6 separate regions of the Homo sapiens genome follow, and regions 1, 2, 3, 4 and 5 are each linked to region 6. The links are contacts of gene promoters, found by promoter capture Hi-C in blood cells and fetal thymus (Javierre and others, 2016). All regions are on one chromosome and are shown on one strand. The core of a region is centred on a gene start or on the middle of the fragment in contact, and the rest is flanking DNA. Distances in the headings are between cores, read along the strand shown. Region 1 overlaps TAPT1-AS1 (TAPT1 antisense RNA 1). Region 2 overlaps TAPT1 (transmembrane anterior posterior transformation 1). Region 3 has its middle 42 kb from the start of TAPT1-AS1. Region 4 holds the start of FAM200B (family with sequence similarity 200 member B). Region 5 overlaps TAPT1-AS1 (TAPT1 antisense RNA 1). Region 6 holds the start of MED28 (mediator complex subunit 28).

Evidence for each region. Contacts are between HindIII fragments. The CHiCAGO score rates a contact against its expected background, and 5 or more counts as called.
Region 1: a contact is called between a fragment that was not itself captured here and the fragment with the promoter of MED28 in region 6, in 1 of 17 cell types (M2 macrophages). The highest score is 5.4, in M2 macrophages.
Region 2: a fragment that was not itself captured here is called in contact with the fragment with the promoter of MED28 in region 6 in 2 of 17 cell types (activated CD4 T cells and total CD4 T cells); the score reaches 8.1 in activated CD4 T cells.
Region 3: a contact is called between a fragment that was not itself captured here and the fragment with the promoter of MED28 in region 6, in 2 of 17 cell types (M1 macrophages and M0 macrophages). The highest score is 9.2, in M1 macrophages.
Region 4: the fragment with the promoter of FAM200B here is called in contact with the fragment with the promoter of MED28 in region 6 in 1 of 17 cell types (total CD4 T cells); the score reaches 5.7 in total CD4 T cells.
Region 5: a contact is called between a fragment that was not itself captured here and the fragment with the promoter of MED28 in region 6, in 1 of 17 cell types (fetal thymus). The highest score is 5.6, in fetal thymus.

The regions. Positions count from the first base shown.
Region 1 is chr4:16,250,872-16,254,199 of GRCh38, forward strand. The region is part of intron 2 of TAPT1-AS1 (TAPT1 antisense RNA 1); the gene reads left to right. Among named protein-coding and RNA genes, the nearest start is that of TAPT1-AS1, 26 kb to the left of the region's middle. The HindIII fragment of the contact is 3,832 bases long and covers 1-3,328 here.
Region 2 is chr4:16,212,553-16,215,882 of GRCh38, forward strand. TAPT1 (transmembrane anterior posterior transformation 1) reads right to left here. Exons shown (of 14, transcript NM_153365.3): 2 at 1,216-1,346. Among named protein-coding and RNA genes, the nearest start is that of TAPT1, 12 kb to the right of the region's middle. The HindIII fragment of the contact is 1,009 bases long and covers 1,065-2,073 here.
Region 3 is chr4:16,267,247-16,270,550 of GRCh38, forward strand. No RefSeq gene overlaps it. Among named protein-coding and RNA genes, the nearest start is that of TAPT1-AS1, 42 kb to the left of the region's middle. The HindIII fragment of the contact is 3,109 bases long and covers 225-3,304 here.
Region 4 is chr4:15,680,174-15,683,326 of GRCh38, forward strand. It overlaps FAM200B (family with sequence similarity 200 member B), which reads left to right and starts at 1,654. Exons shown (of 2, transcript NM_001145191.2): 1 at 1,654-1,728. It also overlaps a transcript of FBXL5 not described here. RefSeq lists enhancers at 1,154-1,453, 1,624-1,863, 1,874-1,923. The HindIII fragment of the contact is 4,207 bases long and covers 1-2,768 here.
Region 5 is chr4:16,230,318-16,233,643 of GRCh38, forward strand. All of the region lies in intron 1 of TAPT1-AS1 (TAPT1 antisense RNA 1), which reads left to right. Among named protein-coding and RNA genes, the nearest start is that of TAPT1-AS1, 5.3 kb to the left of the region's middle. The HindIII fragment of the contact is 8,035 bases long and covers 1-3,326 here.
Region 6 is chr4:17,613,318-17,616,504 of GRCh38, forward strand. MED28 (mediator complex subunit 28) reads left to right here and starts at 1,324. Exons shown (of 4, transcript NM_025205.5): 1 at 1,324-1,496. The coding sequence starts at 1,338. MED28-DT (MED28 divergent transcript) reads right to left here and starts at 1,263. Exons shown (of 3, transcript NR_186331.1): 1 at 825-1,263; 2 at 615-721. RefSeq lists enhancers at 669-1,868, 974-1,263, 1,364-1,473. The HindIII fragment of the contact is 7,436 bases long and covers 1-1,414 here.

The DNA of each region.
Region 1 (3,328 bases), core at 343-2,842, 1.4 Mb before region 6:
CCAGGAGAAAAAGGTCAAGTCAAGGTGGAGTACAAAAGGCAAATGCCAGGCAGGAAAATGGGACGGGCTTGGAAAAGAATGCTTAGTAAAGTCCACCTTCCTTGTTTTCACTTTTTGTAACCTAATTACTCCAACATCTTTGCTGCTGACTTTTACCCCTGCTTTCTCCTAAATTACTCTCCCAAAGGTCACCAAAGGACCACGTGGTCATCACATTTGATGACCTTCTCTCCATTTTTACCCTCCTTAACCTCTCTGTGTTTGATATTGTCAACCACTGTCCCTTTCATGAGTCCCTGTTTCCATGGCGATGGTGACATTGTACTCTTCCAGCTCTTAAATCCTCCTGACTGTTCTTTCCCTGAGCTCCATAATGACTCCCCTTCCACTTCTCTAGTCTTCTTTTTTTTTTTTTTTTGTTTTGAGACGGAGTCTCACACTCTCACCCAGGCTGGAGTGCAGTGGCGCATTCTTGGCTCACTGCAAGCTCCGCCTCCTGGGTTCACGCCATTCTCCTGCCTCAGCTTCCCAAGTAGCTGGGACTACAGGCACCCGCCACCACACCTGGCTAATTTTTTGTATTTTTAGTAGAGACGGGGTTTCACCGTGTTAGCCAGGATGGTCTCGATCTCCTGACCTTGTGATCCGCCCGCCTCAGCCTCCCAAAGTGCTGGGATTACAGGCGTGAGGCACCGCGCCCGGCCTTCTCCAGTCTTCTAATTGTGGGGTCTGCCTACAGAACTGTTCTTTTCTTACTTCTCTTTTTTCTGCATTTTCTATTTCTTGGATATTTAATTCACTCCTATGGCTTCAATGATGATTTCTATGACAGAGGTTTTGAAATATGACAGATACAGACATAACTAGAAATATAAATCTGACCCTGACCTCCCCTGGAGTTCTAATCTCCCATTTTCTGTTACCTGCTAGGCAAGTCCCATTTGTATTTTATTTTATTTTTATAGAAAGAAATGAGATAATCATATGTATTGTAAAAATGTGAATCCATACACATATGTACTGTATATATATATGAATGCATATACATATGTAATACATATACATGTATATTGTGCATATACACACAAACACATCTTAATGAGACCAATGTCAGGTCTCTACCCCCGAACAATTATGTTGGAATATGTAGGATGGGGCTGCAGCACTTGTGCCTATTAAAAGCTCCCAGAGTGATTGGAAAAGAACAATTATTTCCATAGGTTTTGGGGAACAGGTGGTGCTTGGTTACATGAGTAAGATCTTTAGTTGTGATTTGTAAGATTTTGGTGCATCTACCACCTGAGCAGCATGCATTTGTATTTTAAACTTAGCATTTCTAAAACAAAACTTGTCTTCTTCACCTTCAGACTCCCCAGTATGGGCTAAAGAGACCTTTCTGGCCTATCCCCTGCTCACCTTTCCTGTTTCATCTCTTACCACTCTTCTACAAGCACTCTTTTTTCCAGTCATGTCAAATAACTGCAGTTTCACGAACATGTCACGTTTCAAATGCCTCTATGCTATTGAAAACTACGTTCTGTCCCCCGAAACATCCTTCTCCTTGGGCCTGAATTTTTTGTCCCAAAACATTCCTTCCTCAACCCTCCAAATTTTTCTTGTGTATCATTTTCCTTAGGAAGGCTTCCTGCATCTGATGCCCTTCTGCTGTCTCTTATAGCACCCCTTGGAAACTTCTGTTATAGATCGTATCATACTAAAGTGTAGCTGGTTGCTTACTTGTTTGTATTCCCAGGTGAACTGTGAGCCCTTGGAAGTGAAGAAGTATGTCTTTGATGTCTGTACACCCAGGCCCTAAAAAAGTGCTTAACACATAGTAAGTGGATTCACACACTTTTTCTGTGCTTAATACATACTGAATGTGAATACATACGGTATGTGAATCTGCTTCTCTCTCCTGGTTTCTCTATTTTTGATGGTGGTAAAGCCATCTCAAATTTATATCTCTAACCCTGACATTCCTCCTAACTCCATGATCACATCCTTCCTTCAAAACATCTCCACTTGAATGTCCAAGAGGTTTATTAAATCTAACAGGGGCTAAGCAAAGCCCCTGCTGTCTTTGCCCACCATACTGCATCTTGGTAAGGGCACCACCATTTACCCAGCTGTTCTAAGTACAAACTCTGGAATCATCCTTTTTCTTCTACTCTACATCAAATCTGATAAAAAAAAAATCCTACAAGCGTTGCCTGATCATAGATCTGGAATCTGGCCATTTTTCATCTCCTCCAGCAGTGCTACATCAGTTCAAGCCACCATTGTCCCTTCCCTGGGCTCCCATGGTGCCTTCTTACTGGTATCTGTTTACTCTTGCTCTCTATAAATGATTCCTCCAAACAAAAGCCAGAGGTACTTACCTTGGCTTACAAGACCATTGAGGATTAGGCCTTTGGCTATCTTTCTGGGCTCATGACCTATCACCTCCTCCTTGTTGACTCTGCTGCCTACACAGGCCCCCTTGTTACTTTCTGAACACACCAGATGGACACTCATTTCAGGGCTTTTTTCATGCTACTCTCTCTGCCCCAGATACTTCTCTCCTAGAACTTCACATGGCTCACTGCCTGGCTTTCTTCTGGTCTCTGCCCAATAGTCACTTCTGGAAAGAGGCCTTCTCTGACCATAATATCTAAAAAAGCACCCCCACAGACTCTATCCTCTTACCCTGATTTGTTTTTTCCTTTGCCATATGATGTTTTATATTTCTTTATATATCTATTGATACTCTCTTTCATTAGTACATTGGCTCCCTGAGAATAGGGTCTTCGTCTACCATGTTCTTTGCTGCAATCCTAGCATCTGGCACTTTTCCTGGCATATAGCAAAAGCTCAACAAATACTTGATGAATGAATAATTCCAGTTATTCAAGACTGTGAGTCATATTTGACTCCTCACTTGCATTCCCTCCTGTGTGCAGTCACCGAGCCCTTTAGAGTCTTATGTTTATTCATTTCACATTTATTGACTGTAAACTGTCTTATGGTCTGTTTTTCTTTGAGCTAACTTACTTTCCACAAGTGCCATATCAAATGAAGTAATTAATGCAACAAGAACTTTGTAAACTCTAAAGCACTATACAAATGTCATTTTCCTTCCAGTCCCACTGCGATGACATGAATTAATGTTACTTCCTCTTCCAATCTATACAGGAGCCTCTAACTGAACTATCTCCTTCCCAAATTCTCCTTAGATTATATATTTTGCACCCTGCTGCCCACTTAGTCTTCTTAAAGCCTTGCTATAATTATGCACCTCTCCTACTCAAAAACTTTGACTGCCTTCCAGTTCTTGACCAAATAGTATACA
Region 2 (3,330 bases), core at 319-2,818, 1.4 Mb before region 6:
GCTGCGCTGGAGAGGAGTGCTGTGGAGAGCCCTGCCCACTCCTCCTCCCTCCTTATCTGTAAGTCCCTCAGGCCCCCCCAGGGAACTCTAGTCCTCTAGAAATGCAGGAATACAGTAATAGTTGAGCATATTTAATGATCCTTGCCAAAGGCAATCAAACCACTGCCATATTTGTTCTCTAATCTTTGCTTGCTCACCAGCTCTCTAAATCCCACCCTAATACAGAACTCCCTAAAACTTCAGCAAGTGACGCTTCACCAAGAACCTACATAAAGCAACATTTCTGAAACTGTCACTCTACATTTCGCTCTTTTTCTTCTATTAAACTGATAGACTATCAGAAATAGAACATCAGCCAAACCAGCTGGGTCCTTACTCCTCATTGCCTGCAGTACCTCTTGTTACTACAATGTACCAATAAATCCAGCCAACCAAACTCTTCTGATAGCCACTCCAACAGAAAGTATGATTCTAAGAAGACGACTGGACTATTACAAGATTTACGTTACTACAGAAGTATGAAAACATGTTTCAATATAGCTGAAGCTGAATTATTTCTTCTTTTCTTTTAGCAAGAAATTTTGGAATTGCTTAGACTCACCAACTCTAGCATCGCCTAGGGGAGAAGGGGCTGCTTTCCCAGCCTATTTTATTGGTCTTGATAGGATAAGGCACAGCCAAGGAATAAGACACGTGAAGATGTAGTGCTGCTGTTACTACACTCACCCTGTAATGTGATGCTTCCTGTGATAAAGATTAAACAAACCATCTTTTTCTTTGAAGAGACTGTCCTGTATGTTTATAAACATGTGGGCTTTCTGAGAAACTGAAACCTTTAAAAAGGCTGAAATTAAATAATTTATCATGCTGAATGGGGGAAAAAAAACCTGTTTCTAGTAAAAGAGAACTGAAGGGAACTAAAAGGGTACAGAAGTAGAGATTAATTCCTTACAAAAGTTATTTTGATGTAGCACACAATGATAATGATAGGCAGAAAAGTTCAGATTTTGATAGATCTATTAATATCCTATCACTGGGTCTTACACTAAAAAATGTAACTTTAAAGCTTCTTCCTGTAAGGAAATTTCTACTCCCCCAATAACATTATTTCAATTATTTAAAAAACTCAACTCTAGCTGTTGACCATTTTTTTGCATAATTAATACTTTGACATAACTTTCAAAATGATGTCTGGTAATGAAGAAAAAATAGTACCTTTTCCAATTCTCTTGGTATTCGCAAACAAGTGTATACTCTTTCTCTTCTTTCTGTATACTTGGCCTCATTATGTTCAAGGAAGTACCCTCTTGTTAGTTCAGCACTGAGGAACCTCAACAATGAAAGCTCTACAGAAAAGAAAATGACAGAAAACAAAAAGAACAGTATTTATCAAGGAACTTCCACGCTAGCTGGGGCCACAGGTAATATACATATAAAACAAAGAGACCAAAATAAATGTTATCTATAATTCTATGCCTAGAACTGCACACAATGATCAGCAAGTATTTTTGAGAAAAGTATTCTTCTTTGTGGTATAACCTGAAAATGCCACAGGAATATGGAAAGGAATAATTATTAAGGGCTAGAATAGTCAGAAAAGTATTTTTCAAGAGCTCAGTCTTGGTTCTTACAGGTGATACAGTACCTGGACTGACAGACATGGAAGGAAAATCAGTAGGTGTCAAGAATATATAAAATAGAGCAATATATAGAGTCAAAAGGGAGCAAAGTCACACAACGGGCACCACTTTAGTCCAAGAACCATCCTGGATGAACTACATGGATACTGGTGCCCCAGCTCCCTTCTTAGTTTAGCCTCAGAGATCCTGCACAAACATCTAAATAATGCCATTTCCCTACATGAAGACTTACCAACATGATACTCACAATAGTTATTACGCGAAGTGCAACCTCAACCGGATCAGAAAAACCTCCCTTTCCTTGGATCTTTCCATTCACCCGTGTTTTTCCTCTGTTCCTCTAAAGCAAATTACTCCATAGTTATCTCATCTCAGGTGAGAAAAACAAGGTCAAAGGAAGTTATTTATATACTTTCCACTCACTACAACTGGAAGCTTGAGGTGAGAAGCGAAGGCTCTGGATGCTCGACCCCACCTCTTCCCAGTGCATTACACTTCCCTGATAGCCCATCCCCTCAATGACCCTCAGCACCCCTTACTTCATCTACAGCTTCCTACTTTTACTCTGCAGGAGGTAAACTCTCTTCCAGAACGCAGGTTACCAAAAGGTTTCCAACTGTCCACTGTTCTCTTTGCTCTGAGCTGGCCTTGTGGTCCTTTCTACCAAATGTGGTCTTAATGTTCCCTCCAAAAAATGACAAGGGAGGAAGGTTGATTTCATTTATGCAGATCTACTTAAGGAGTTGCACCTTCTAGGAGTACTATGATCTAAAGCCTACATGTGAGGGGGGAAGCGTTTATAGTAAAAAATATCCTTGGCCAGGCACGGTGGCTCACGCCTGTAATCCCAACACTTTGGGAGGCCGAGGTGGGCAGATCACGAGGTCAGGAGTTCAAGACCAGCCTGGCCAACATAGTGAAACCTATCTACTAAAAGTACAAAAAAAAATTAGCCGGGCGTGCCGGTGGGCGCCTGTAGTCCCAGCTGCTTGGGAGGCTGAGGCAAGAGAATCGCTTGAACCCAGGAGGCAGAGGTTGCAGTAAGCCGAGATCACGCCACTGCACTCCAGCGTAGGTGACACAGCAGGACTGTGTCTCAAAACAACAACAACAAAATATATATATATATCTCCTTAAAAGCCCTTGGAAAGACTTAGAAGCCAACTTGACTATGGTTTTAAACAATAGGTCTACAACAGCTTACTTCCTCCAGCATTAAAACGGATTCCTGGTTCTTTGAGTATTATGTCAAGTGGCTTGCTTATGTTAGGGTTTATTCCATATATATGTGTATGTACACACATACACATACACACTTCTTTAAATACCAGATTCATAATCTGTCTGGGGAGTCAGTGTTACCATGAGAGATACCTGGAGTTGAAACAGAAGAAGAAAGCAGACTTCTTTCCACCTTTGCCAGCCTCACGCAACAGGAGGCGGAATCTATCTACATGTGTCGTACTTTCTCTTTTCAATACATTTACAGTTGAAGTCACATGGGTTAAGTGCACGCAATATGTAAACTCTATTGTATAAATTAACAGATGTTTGGATTTAAAGGACTTAGTCTAACCAAATCCACATAGAGTAGAACTTCTGGTTAGGAACTTTCTAATATGTTCTACGCTGGCTAGAACCAGAACAAGATCTGCTCTTTCAAGGTGAGAAAAAGAAAACCTTTTGAGTT
Region 3 (3,304 bases), core at 529-3,028, 1.3 Mb before region 6:
TAATTAAATGGGAGGCAAAAAAATAGACCATCAGTGAACATTAAAACACTTCTTTGAAGAGGCTAACAAAACAGACAAACTTACAGCAATGATAATTGATATTAAGCATTTATTACTGGCAAATGATTATTAACATTAGGAATGAAAAAGGAATCACAACCAGAGACAGAAGATATTACAGATATTTCCAACTTTATGCCAAAAAGTTTGCAAATAGTTCAGTAAGCTTGTAGAAAAACGTAGAGAACCAGAAATGATTTAAGAAAATATGGAAAATCTGAAAAGTCCTGTTAACACTAGAGAAATTGAATTTGTCTTCAAAAACAGACACACACACACACACACACACACACACACACGCTGTCACTCACCTGGATCAGACAACTTTCAACACTAAGCCCATCAAATTGTGAAGAAAGATTCTTCACTAGCTTATGCAGACTGTTCCAGTGACTAGAGAAAGACAAAGTTCTTAAGTTCATTTTATAAGGCTGATCTCCCCTTGAAAACAAAACAAGGACAATATGAGAAATGAAAACAGATGAATCTTCCTTAAGAATATTTATTTGTAGAATTCAAAATAAAGCATTAATACATACAGTCAGCAATTTATATATGTGAACAAGATTTGGTAGTTGAGAAAGGAGAAATTATAAAAAATTGGGTGTTAATTTGAACTAGCTTAAGTTTAGCAACATTGCTGAAGAAATGGTCACTGAGACTGCCAAGATGGTGTTAGGAGCTCGGTGTCAAAATTGTGGCAGGAGACCTATACCAACCTGTTGTCACTGAAACCCACTGGGCTCTGCCTTGTAAGTGCTGCAGGTGTCTCCATGGAGCCTCATGCTGTGGGTCACTAATCCAGAAGGGCCTTGAGAATGGGCCTCCTCTATTGTTTTCCGCCCTCATTTCAGGGACTGTTTCCCTGCACAGGTAGGGAATGACCTCCCTGGAGCCTGTGTCTTCGCAGGAGAGTCCCAACTGTAGCCGTGTTTCTGAACAGCCCTGGCTTTTATTGTAACAGGGAAACAGCAAACGAACTAACATAACTAACTCCATTTTTATTTAAGGAGCATTTACCCATTCCTGCACCTAGGCTAGGATAATTTTAGAGCACTGAGATAATATGCAAAAACAGCAGTCACGGAGTTTCTGTAACTAACTCTGGAATTAGAGGGAAAGTAGGTAAACAATTAACTGTACTTTGTTAAAGATATACGGGTACACTGTGACCTGACTGACGACAAAGAAGTTCCCAACCTCCTCCAACCCTCACTGGTGCTCAGATGTCTGCAGTCATTTGTCACCTCTTGATCACAACTCCCTCTTCTTCCCCCTGCCCTTAACATGAAAAGAACCTGAAATTTGTACCAAGTTAAGATGATACTTTAGGATGTTAGTCCACCATCTTCTTGGTTTGCTGATTCTCCAAATAAACCTGCTTTTCCTCCCACCAACCCTTGTCTCTGGAGTTTAGGCTTCCCAGCGGTGAGCAGCAGAACCACTCATCTATTCCCAAGCCTCTTCTCACTCATTGAGCTGCACTTTGTGTCCATACTGGCTTCAGAGACAATCATCTGTCTCTGTCTCTGAGGCTGTAGGAACTGAAGCAGCTTTCATCTAAGAGCCTGACTGGTTTGGCTCAGAGGCCTCCTAAGGCAGCATCACTGGTGAGCCAGTATCCCTAAAAAGTAGTTACTACTGGAGGACTGTACCACTACTTGTGTTCACCATAGGACTTGGTCACTTGGACCATCTTTTGGGATCATAACAGGATCATCAATGCCTGCTTCTACTCAAACACTGTTTCTTTGATTCACACATACATTGAAATACACCTGTGCCTTGATGATATCTACCACCACTACCCCTCAACCAAGACATCTGTCAGCACTGGGGAGTCCTGAATAAAAAGCACAGCATCAGTTGGCACTGGGATGGGAGCCCATGGGCTTTTTGATTTCCTGCTCTTATTGGCAGTTGGGAGCTAAATTTTCTCACTCTCAATTATCTTCAAATCCTGAACAGTGCAGAGGGTTAAACCTTACTTAATAAGGCATTGGTTGGACCTTCAGCTACCCCATAGATTCAGTTTGCTGGGAACTGATTCAAGTTAACATGTGTCAGGGGCTATGATGAATGGACTGACTCTGGATACCTTTGGAGAGCTTAAGAAAGCACTACAGACAGGACTGGGGAGCAACCCACCCAAGCCTTGGCAAAGGACCAAGAGGCGGTGGTGGTAGTAGCAGCACTCACTGATCAAGACCTTTAGGAGAAGTGAGATGGGACATAGAGCCAAGAAAATTTTCTGGGACTGAGGTTTCCTTGGAAGCCATCTGATACCTTGTCAAGGCAGCTAAGGAGACTTAGAGTCTTTCCAGGCAAGCACTTGGAGTTGTTCCACAGGACTTGGTTTCCCCAAGCCAGTGAGGCTCACAGGGGCAAAGATTCATAGTTCCTCACCTCTGTGGTTACCTGCAGCACAAGGCTTGGGTGACCAGAAGGAAGAATGGTCACACACTGAGCCTACATATTCTAATCATTATTTTCAATGGGATTTTGTAACTAAATCCCTTTTTTGCTGGAACAAGGGCAATCAAACCTATGTATGGCAGATTCTAAATAAAATTCTAAAGGAGAAATTCTGACAAAAAAAACAACCCTTGAATAATGGCAACATCATGAGAATATTTGTAGCCCCAGGGTGACTACTTTGGATGCTATACAATTACCTGTATACGGATGTCAGGTAAGTTTATTGAATCATTATTTTAAAAATCTTATTTGCTTACTCACAGAGCCTATTTTTTCAGAAGTCTTAATAATCACATTTTACATGCTTACAAATGCTTGCTGGTGTCAGGCTCTGCTCTATGAATTCCACATGTACAGCTCATTCATTCTTGTAGCAGTCCCAGGAGGAATGGCTTCTTGCTTTCTCCATTTCACTTTTAAGCAATTTGCCCAAGGTTATACAACTATTCAGTGGAGGAAGTGAGGTTTAAACCCGCAAGGCCTGGCTCCGGAGCTTGGTTCTTAACCACTACCTCCACTGCATCTGATTATGTCATCTACTCACAGGATATTTTCCAATTTAAAATGACCGCAAGCAATCCTTAGAAACAGCCCCAATTTGCCAGATAATCATGACTGTCTTCCCTCCTATCAGGGGAAGCCATGTGGATCTGGCTTAAATTTCTTAGGAGAGGTGTATCAGTTAGGGTTCCTCTTTGGAAAGCCACAAAAATGAACTCTGGCCAAGATCTTATAAAAGGGGAATTTGTTAGAGGGATGTATGGAT
Region 4 (3,153 bases), core at 404-2,903, 1.9 Mb before region 6:
GACTGTATATTCTCATCTGCTTGTATCTCTGCATGAAGACCGGAAGGATAAACAAGAAACTAATTTAAAATGATTACCCGTGAAGACTATTAGGAATGGTACTGGATAGGGACTAGGGAGGAAGTGTTTCTTGCTGCATTTCTTTTCATGTAGTTTGAGCCATGTAAAAGAAATATTTGCTAATCAAAAAACAGCTTTAAAAATCCAGTGGGAGAGGCTGGGTGCAGTGGCTCACCCCTGTAATCCCAGCACTTTGGGAGGCCCAAGTGGGTGGATCACCTGAGGTCAGGAGTTCGAGACCAGCCTGGCCAAAATGGTGAAACCCCGTCTTTGTATTTTTGAAAAATACAAAAATTAGCCTGGCATGGTGGCGGTCGCCTGTAATCCCAGCTACTCGGGAGGTTGTGGCAGGGGAATCGCTTGAACCAGGAGGCTGAGGTTGCAGTGAGCCGAGGCTGCGCCACTGCACTCCAGCCTGGGCGAGAGAGTGAGACTCCGTCTCAAAAATTAAAAAAAAAAATCCAGTTGGAGAATCAAAAATTTTTAAAAATTTGACTGTGTAATCCTACAAGAAGTAAGTAGCTTGAGAAAGAGAAATGCTGATAAAGTCGCATTAAGTTTCAGAGTTGAAATTCAAGCTCCTGTATCTAACATGTTTCCCTGTTTAAGGTAGAATTTAAAAAAAAACTATATATGACATATATATGTCAACCCAAAAAAATAAAGCAGTATATATTATATATATAAGAATATATATATATTCTCCTTTATATGTTTTTTGTTTCACATATATATATAAATATATATCTCAACCACAAAAAAATTTGGTTTGTGACAAAGATGCACTTATTTGCACGAACCTATCTTGTTAATGATCAAGAAATCTGCTTTGTTACAATCATTAGAGGACAGAAATATACATACATATTTAAATCTATTTAATGAAATGCAGTTTTATGTTAAAAATCAATGATCTGCTAACCTAAAGAGTCGCACAGGAATACTATGATTATTAAACACAATGCGATTCTCTAAATAAGTAAACACGTGCAATGATATCAAAGTTCAAAATTCTCTAATTCTTCCACAAAGACTATGAAAATCACCTTGGAGTGTATGAACCAGCGTCCTGGCCCCGCCAGGTCGGGGCTGGGGCGGGCGCGGGCCGGGAGCGCTTACCCCGCGGCAGGAGCGATTCAGCGCCACTACCTGCTTCGCCTGGTTGTGGTGTGGCTGCTGCGCCAACCGAAAGGCCTCCTTAATCCGCAGCAGTCTCTTTTCGCTCCCATGGCTCTGGGACTCTGTCCGGACTAGCCCTGTCCGCGCTCGGCTACATCCGGCCCGCCCACCAGCTCAGAGGCAGAGTTCTCCGCGGTGTCTCCTAGGGTTTCTTGTCAGAGGGCCCCAGGCGCCTAGGGAGTCGTTACCGCCCTGGCATTCAAATAACTCCCGCGAGAGGCGGAAATCCCGCGAGACTGCCGACAGAGCGTAGGGAAGTGGAAAAGTGGAGCCTGCACCGCCCGCTCCCGGCACCCCCGGACACCGCCCCGGTCTCACGCATGCGCAGAGGGCCGATCCAGTTCTTTTCGGCTGGAATGGGGAATTTGTGAGGTAGGCCGGAAGTGGTGTTGCGGAGGGAAGTGTGGGGAGAGCAGAGGCGCAGCTCTGCTGGAGAGACCTGAGGCTTGCAGCGCTGGGCCCGGCCGGGTCGCTGCGGCTGGGCTGGAGGTGAGGCGAAAGAAGGGCATCCTCTGATGGGAGTGGACCGGAGTCCGCTAAAGCGAAGCATTCCAGGGTTCGTTGCGGGAAATACAGTCTGGTTTTGCCCCCCGTATGAATTGAGGGAAGGTGAGAGCAGAAGCAATCCGGGCCTGAAGGGCGATTATTCTAGGGTCGGCCGAGGGGTTCAGGCCAAAGTTCATTGAAATCCTAGCTGGGTCCCTGGAGGACGAGAAAACCGGTCAGGAGTCTCCTGGGAAGAGGGTCATGTTTTAATCTAGCTAAAGCTGGTACCTGGCAGTTTCCACTCTTAAGGCCTAGTGTACTAACTAATGTGTGCGCAATGTCAAAACAGGAAACAAAGGGAAATGCAAGAGGTGGAAGGTAATTTTAAGTTAGTGGCAGTATGACAGATTTCCAGTGCCTTCAGGAAGGTATCCAGCCTTAAAGATGCTTTTTTTAAATAGACGATTTTAGACAGAAAAAAGGTAGAAACAAAACTATAACACATGTGTACTCACCACTGAATTGGAGAAATAAATGATTATATAAGTGATTGAAGTCCTTTGTCAGCTCTACCCCGTCTCATTCTCTTTCCTTTTGCCTAAGGAAACCACTCTCCTAACCACCTTTATGCAATCTGTAATGTGTACATCTTTTTGCAGCTAGCTTGTTTTACATAATGTTTTTGAGATTTGTCAGTGTTGTGTAACTCCACCTTATTCATCTTAATAGCTGAACAGATATTCTGTTATTTTAATATGTCACTGTTCATTGTTTAGTATCTCCAGTGCCTGACATACTTTAGGCACTGTAGGTAGCTAAATGTTAGTTGAATGCATGGCTGCTGTAGCATTTGAACTAAGTAGAAAAGAATAAATAGGACTTCATGTGACCCAACAAGAGTATTCCAGGCAAAAGGAATACTAGCCAAAAGCAGAGACATGAAAGTGCATGAACTATTTCAAGAATTTCCATACTTTTAGTACTGAAATGTAGAATGTATGGAGATCATGTGATGAAGGAGAAACCTGGAAAGATGAGGCTTAAGCTTAAAGGATATTATCCTGAAGAGCTTACACAAGCTCGGCGCCATTAAATGCTTTTCCAGTTATGAGGAAGCTGATTAGAGCTGTATTTTCAGAAGATGATACAGCGCACTAGAGATATATCTTAGGATATAAAAGATTAGTGACGGGGAATTTTAGACTATCAAGCATTGTAACAATAACAATCATTGCATTAAGCAAGTAAGACAACCAGCCAGACTAAAAATCCAAAAACATTTTCCTAGTCCATCATATTATCACATTCCTTAACAATTATTAATATTTCATATTTTCTTCTGACAAACTTGCAACATTTTCTACTTCGGCCTCTTACTTAGATGATACCTCACATCCTATTGAGTTAAAAAAAAACTTCCCCATGCTT
Region 5 (3,326 bases), core at 39-2,538, 1.4 Mb before region 6:
GTGTATTGTCCCTAAAGTACTTTTGAAAGTAGTTCTGTACACTTTTCCTGAGTAATAAAAACATCACATATTTGCTAACTTGAAAGAATCCCGAGTCAGGAGATGGCCTGGATTCTCTCTGACCCTTCAACTAAAGTCTTTGACCAAAGGAGCACAGGTGACCCCTTTCTGCTTCATTTTCTGACCTGTAGAGTATTGGACTCAATGACCGATCCTCCCTTGTAGCTCCAAAATTCTGGGCTAAACTCCATGCACCTCCCTTCTGAGTTAAAAATAGTAGACAGGCCTGCATTATCAACATTTGTAGAAAAATATGAAATGCTTAGAGTCACTTTGTAATTGAGTCTAAGATTTGAATGCATAGAGTTCAAATGCAATACTTGTGTTGATAACACAACAAAGACATGTAAGTTTTTATGTACCTTTATGTTCTATGCATTAGTCCTTCATTCCTTGGCATGAGGAGAAGTGATGGTTTCTCAGTGACCTTCCAGAACTCTAAGGCTGTGTTTCTCACACCAGGCCTCAGGGTTTCTACATTTTGAACAAATTTCCAGTATTGTACCCATGCACACCTGAGTCTAAGAACTCTGCTGTAAGGTGACATTAAACAGCACCTGAAGTTATATTTGAGATGATTACTCAGTAATCAATGTACAGTTGATTTTCATAGTGTGGATTCAAGCACGGAATAGAGCACAGTTTTAATTAAATCTGTATTTCTCAGTTGAAACTTTATTTTAGCATTACATGACTTCTATTTCATGAATCATAAATGTCATGTTTCTTCACAAACTGTAGTTCTGAATTTAACTCATTCACCATTTTGTCGTCAAAAAGAAGAGTTGATGTTGTTGAAAGATCTAAACAGCTTTGCAGCTGATGTTCTAAAGAAATAAAATATACCACTGAACCCAGATCAAGCCTTTGCACTAAATTAATGTGAGTTTGAATTTCTGAGTTTCAGTAGTAATATTTTCTATCTTTGGCAATCATTTTTGGACTGACGCTCATTACGTTTTATTCTCTTTGGGCTTTATTCCATGGATTTGTAAAGGACACCAGTTCGCTTTATTTCTGGAAGATGTAACACAAATTAAGTAATGTGCCTTTGATTCCAATGTAACTGTTACACCTTAACTAAAACTGTCATGAGCAACATCATTTTTAAAAGCATTTCTTTGACGTGCAAATATATGACAGAAACCATTGTAAATAGGACTTTTTGAAAACAATACTTTGCTAAAAGGGGTGTTTTATGAAGGATATTATGTTCTGAAGACCTAAAGGTAGGTTCTGTTTATGTAATAAAAGTGTATGAACCTATATAATTTCATGGCTTATTGGCTTATAGGGCCTTTTATTCATGATCAGATATAAAATTTATTTTGTGCTGTACTTTAAATTTCTGGAAAATTTCAAAATACTGATGAAAGGGGCCCTGGTAATGACTCAGCAGACTTTCCATTCCAGATTTATCTCTAAGAAAAAAGAAGTGTTTCTCATTATCACGATGAAAATAAATAGAGGTTGTTTCAAACCGTATTAATCATTTAGTCGGTTAATTAACAAGAATCCTTTTGCAGAATAAATTCAGACCTTCTAGTAAATGTGTTGATAACTGTCAAAAATCCTTTTTTATAATTCTAGCTAGCAAAGGCTTTCATTTTGGAATTCAGGAAGCAGGGGAGATTTTATTTATCACCCAGTTCCTGTTGCTAGTCCTTTTGAATTTTGCCTTTCAGAGTTTTTTTTTTTTTTTCTTTTTGTTATTCCCCAGTGGCAAGTTATTTATTGCTTCGTTTGGCCACTCATCAAATAGTAGTTGGTAATCAGAAGATTTTACATGATATTCAGGATAATTTTTTGCTTTTTTCTAGTGTTTCTAGTTGAACTATGATGGATTAAGGTAACTGAGTAATTTTTCTCTTGACATCGATGCCCTTTAAGCTCTTTTGGGCTGTGATCCTGCTCTTGTAATTAGCTTTCATCCTGTTCATTAATCAGTGTTTCCATTCTGACAGTTTTTCCTTTTCTTTCTCCTCTTGTTTCTGAGATATTAAAAAGCGAAAGCAGTCTCTTACAAGGATCTATTGTTTGTTATCTTTTAGGCAAACCCAAGTATTTATCTCTCTCTTTTGCGTTCATACCAAAATTTATTGGAAATGCACGATAAATTTTCAGATTCTCAAAAATCTCAGGGTTTCTGCTTTCCAGGTTTTAGAAATTAGTTTATCTGATTTCAAGGCCTTAGATTTTCAAATTGCTCTTTTATATGCATCTATTCTATTCCGTTTTCTTTTCAGTTCTAAGCCTATGTTTATATGTAAAATGCTTCTCTTGTTTCTGACATTTTCCAATTTAGTATCAATTTCTAATAATGAACCACTGTTACCTGCTTGTCTTCCATGTGGATGCTTAATAAATACTATAACTTAGGTATACAGTTTCATGGAGGAGAATAGAAGAATGTGGTTAATTTTTTGAAATAGCAATAAAAAGAAAACATGTTGTGGCTTTAGCAAGCATTATTTTCTTGTGACAATTTTATCCTCCTAATTATACATTGCCTAAGCTGGTACTAACGTTAATTCATGTTCTCCTAAGCATATGCCCACTCTTGACAGATATACACTGGGGTTACAAATTTGGCGTGTATAATTTACACATAAATATTCAATTGCTAAGAAAACTGAGACTAAATCACATGCTGGTCATTATCATCTTTTAAATTACACTCTGACCTTTCATCCATCTACTTAGCAGTGTAATAACACAATTGTCTTAATATAAATAATTCATTTCTAGTGCTGCAACCCATTTTTAAATACTCAATTTTAATATTTATTATAGTTCTGATATTTATTATCTGACATGTTTGGCTAGATATTCTTTTTCTGAACAGTACTTAGTTTCATGTAATTTGATTTTATTTTTACTAGCTGGATAAACACACAGTTTTACACAGTAAAAATAAAATCAAATTACATGAAATTAAATTAATGTAATTAATTAATGTAATTAATGTAATGTAATTAATGCATCCAACAAAAATCAGTCTTGTATTAAGTAATTAAAGGTCCAAAAATCAGTTGGTTCCATTGACTTTGGGCAATGCAATGTCCACTCCAAATCTGTCGTTTGTTTCGCTCTGATATTTTAATAGTGTTGCACAGAGGATGCCTCATTGGTGGGATTAGCCTTCTTCACTGGTGTTTTATGGACAGTACAACTGGCTTCTCCCTTGAAAGCAAATAATTTTCTTTAATTAGGAGTATTTTTTAAAAATAGCTTATCAGCAAAGGTTTTTCTTCTGAGTGTGTGTT
Region 6 (3,187 bases), core at 74-2,573:
TACTCGGAAGGCTGAGGCAGGAGAATTGCTTGAACCCAGGAGGCGGAGGTTTCAGTGAGCCGAGATCGCGCCACTGCATTCCAGCCTGGGCGACAGAGCGAGACTCCGTCACCAAAAAAAAAGAGAGAGATAAGCAAATGTTAAAAGCAGGTTACTACAAGATTAGCAGCCTAGTGCCGGGCGCGGTGGCTCACGCCTGTAATCTCAGCACTTTGGGAGGCCGAGTCGGGCGGATCACGAGGTTAGGAGATCGAGACCATCCTGGCTAACACGGTGAAACCCCATCTCTACCAAATATACAAAAAATTAGCTGGGCGTGGTGGCGGGCGCCTGTAGTCCCAGCTACTCGGGATGCTGAGGCAGGAGAATGGCGTGAACCCGGGAGGCGGAGCTTGCAGTGAGCCAAGATCGCGCCACTGCACTCCAGCCTGGGCGACAAAGCGAGACTCTGTCTCAAAAAAAAAAAATTAGCAGCCTGGCGCCTTGGCTCATTACTGTATTCCCAACACTTTGGGAGGCCGCGGCGGTAGAATCACTTGAGCTCAGTAAAACACCTGACTCAACTAAAAAAAAAAAAAAAAAAAAAAAAAAAAGCCCGTCGCGACTGCACGCACCTGTGGTCCTAGCTACTTGGGTGGCTGAAGTAGGGGGATTGTTTGAGCCCGGGAGGTCGAGCCCTGATCATGACACTGCACTCCGGCCAGGGCGACAGAACGAGACCCTGAGAAAAAAGAAAAGAAAGAAAAAAAAAGATTAGCATAGTGACTTTCTCTTTGATGTAACCATAAATATTTAAAGACATCAGTGCCGGGCACATTGGGAACCTCAACAAAGTTGTTTCCGTTATCCATCTCCGACCAGAATTCAGGAAGAACTTTGCCTGTCTTGTTCCCGCTATAACCAATGACTCAACAAATGTTTGTGGAGTGAGTGGGTGACCCTCTCCTTTTACCAACGGTAAACAGCCCGCGGAAAGAAAAAGTGACTTAGCCAAAGTCTCTCCAGGCATTTGGGGCAGAGTCGGGACTAGCATAGTAGTATCCTGACTCTCGCAGGAGGGCTCGCTCCACTGTAGTTATTAATTCTCCTCTCCACACAACCAGGTCTAATCCGGCCAAAGTCTTCAATTCTTAAGCTAAGAAAAAAGGAAAATACATGTAAACTCTGTTTTGCGATAGACAAGAAAACAGAAGAATTAAAAATCCTCCTTCCGGGGTGCACCAGAATCCTCCCATCGCTCGGTCCTGTCACGTGACCACGCCTACTACACCAGCCACGTGAGCTTCTGAGCCGGCTTCCGCGCAGGCGCAGTGGATCTCTCTTGCGCCATTCCAAACATGGCGGCTCCACTAGGGGGTATGTTTTCTGGGCAGCCACCCGGTCCCCCTCAGGCCCCGCCGGGCCTTCCGGGCCAAGCTTCGCTTCTTCAGGCAGCTCCAGGCGCTCCTAGACCTTCCAGCAGTACTTTGGTGGACGAGTTGGAGTCATCTTTCGAGGTAATATAAGACATGGGCGTCTTTGTCCCTAGCCTTCCCTTTTTTCTGAAACGTGAACTGCGCGTACGCGTATCTCCTCCAGGGATCCGAGCAACTAATTCACAAATGGGGAAACTGAGGCTTAAAGTAAGTCACTTGCTTTAGGCTTCCCCGTGGCCCGTATTCAATTCAGGTCTGCTGGCGGGGGCGCGTAAACTCGACGTTTGTGGAAACGTGAACCCGAAGTTTGCCTAAACCCCAAACTTGGAACCCTTCCAGATTCCCAGCCGGTCCTTAGTCTCATCCCCGAGCACCGTTTCTTGCATCCCTGCATGTTTAGTAAGAGGCTCAAGCCTTTTCGGAGCTGAGAGTTTCACTGCTGTATCCTGTATCCTTTCCGCTGGGCTTCACCTTTAAACGATCCTAAAGGGACTCTTAAGAGCGGAAATTGACTTAAGTTACCAGGCGCAGCTTGGTACTAAGAGCTGAGGAAGGAGGAATGCTGGAGGTTAGGGAGGGAGGGAGGCACAGGTGACCCAATCTCTCAGTTTTGCCCAAGGAGTTTACCTTGTAGCAAGAAAGGTGAACTGTATATTGAGGGAAGATAGAGAGGTGAAAATAAGTGCTCTGGTGATTTCCAGTAGTCTTTAAAGTGGAAGATGAGCTATTCCTGTGTAGTAATAAAGTAATGTACGTTCAAATTGGAGTTAACTTTTCCACATTTTAAATCCCAGTTTTGCCGGGCGCGGTGGCTCACGCCTGTAATCCCAGCACTTTGGGAGGCCGAGGCTGGCGGATCATGAGGTCAGGAGTTCGAGACCAGCCTGACCAACATGGTGAAACCCTGACTCTACTAAAAATACAAAAATTAGCCAGGCGTGGTGGCGTGCGCCTGTAATCCCAGGTACTCGAGAGGCTGAGGCAGGAGAATCGCTTGAACCTGGGATGCGGAGGTTGCAGTGAGCGGAGACCGCGCCATTGCACTCCAGCGTGGGTGACAAGAGCTCGACTCCGTCTCAAAAAAGTAAAATAAAATATAAATAAATAAAAATCCCAACTTTGTGACTTTTGTATTGTATCTAATAGCACAGTGGTAAATGAATATAATTTGCAAGCGATTATTCAGACTGCATGGACAAAATGCTTTTACCACACGGATGTACAAAGATTTAGAAATAAATGATTTGAGATGGAGTCTCACTCTCTCGCCCAGGCTGGAGTACAGTGGCGCAATTTCGGCTTACTGCAACCTCCGCCTCCCGGGTTCAAGCGATTTTCCTGCCTCAGCCTCCCGAGTTGCTGGGATTACAGGCACCTGCCACCATGCTATTTTTTTTATTTTTTAGTAGAGACAGGGCTTCACTATCTTGGCCAGGCTGGTCTCGAACTCCTGACCTCGTGATCCACCCGCCTCGGCCTCCCAAAGTGCTGGGATTACAGGCGTGAGCCACTGCGCCTAGCCAGAAATAAATGATTTAAAGGACAGACCGTTTAGGAGGAGGAGGAGGAGACACCTTTGAGGTGGTGCTAAGTGGTAAAGGAAGGGGCTGGTGAACTTTAGAGCAGCATCTAGCATTGTGCTTGAGGGGAGCTGGCTCTCAGTCATGGGCACTTGCTGAAAGACTGGCCCTGTACAAGTCTTAGCCAAAGTTGACTCCCAGCACCCTGCTGCTTAAAAACGTACAGTGGCTGCTTGTTGCCCTTGAGATAAG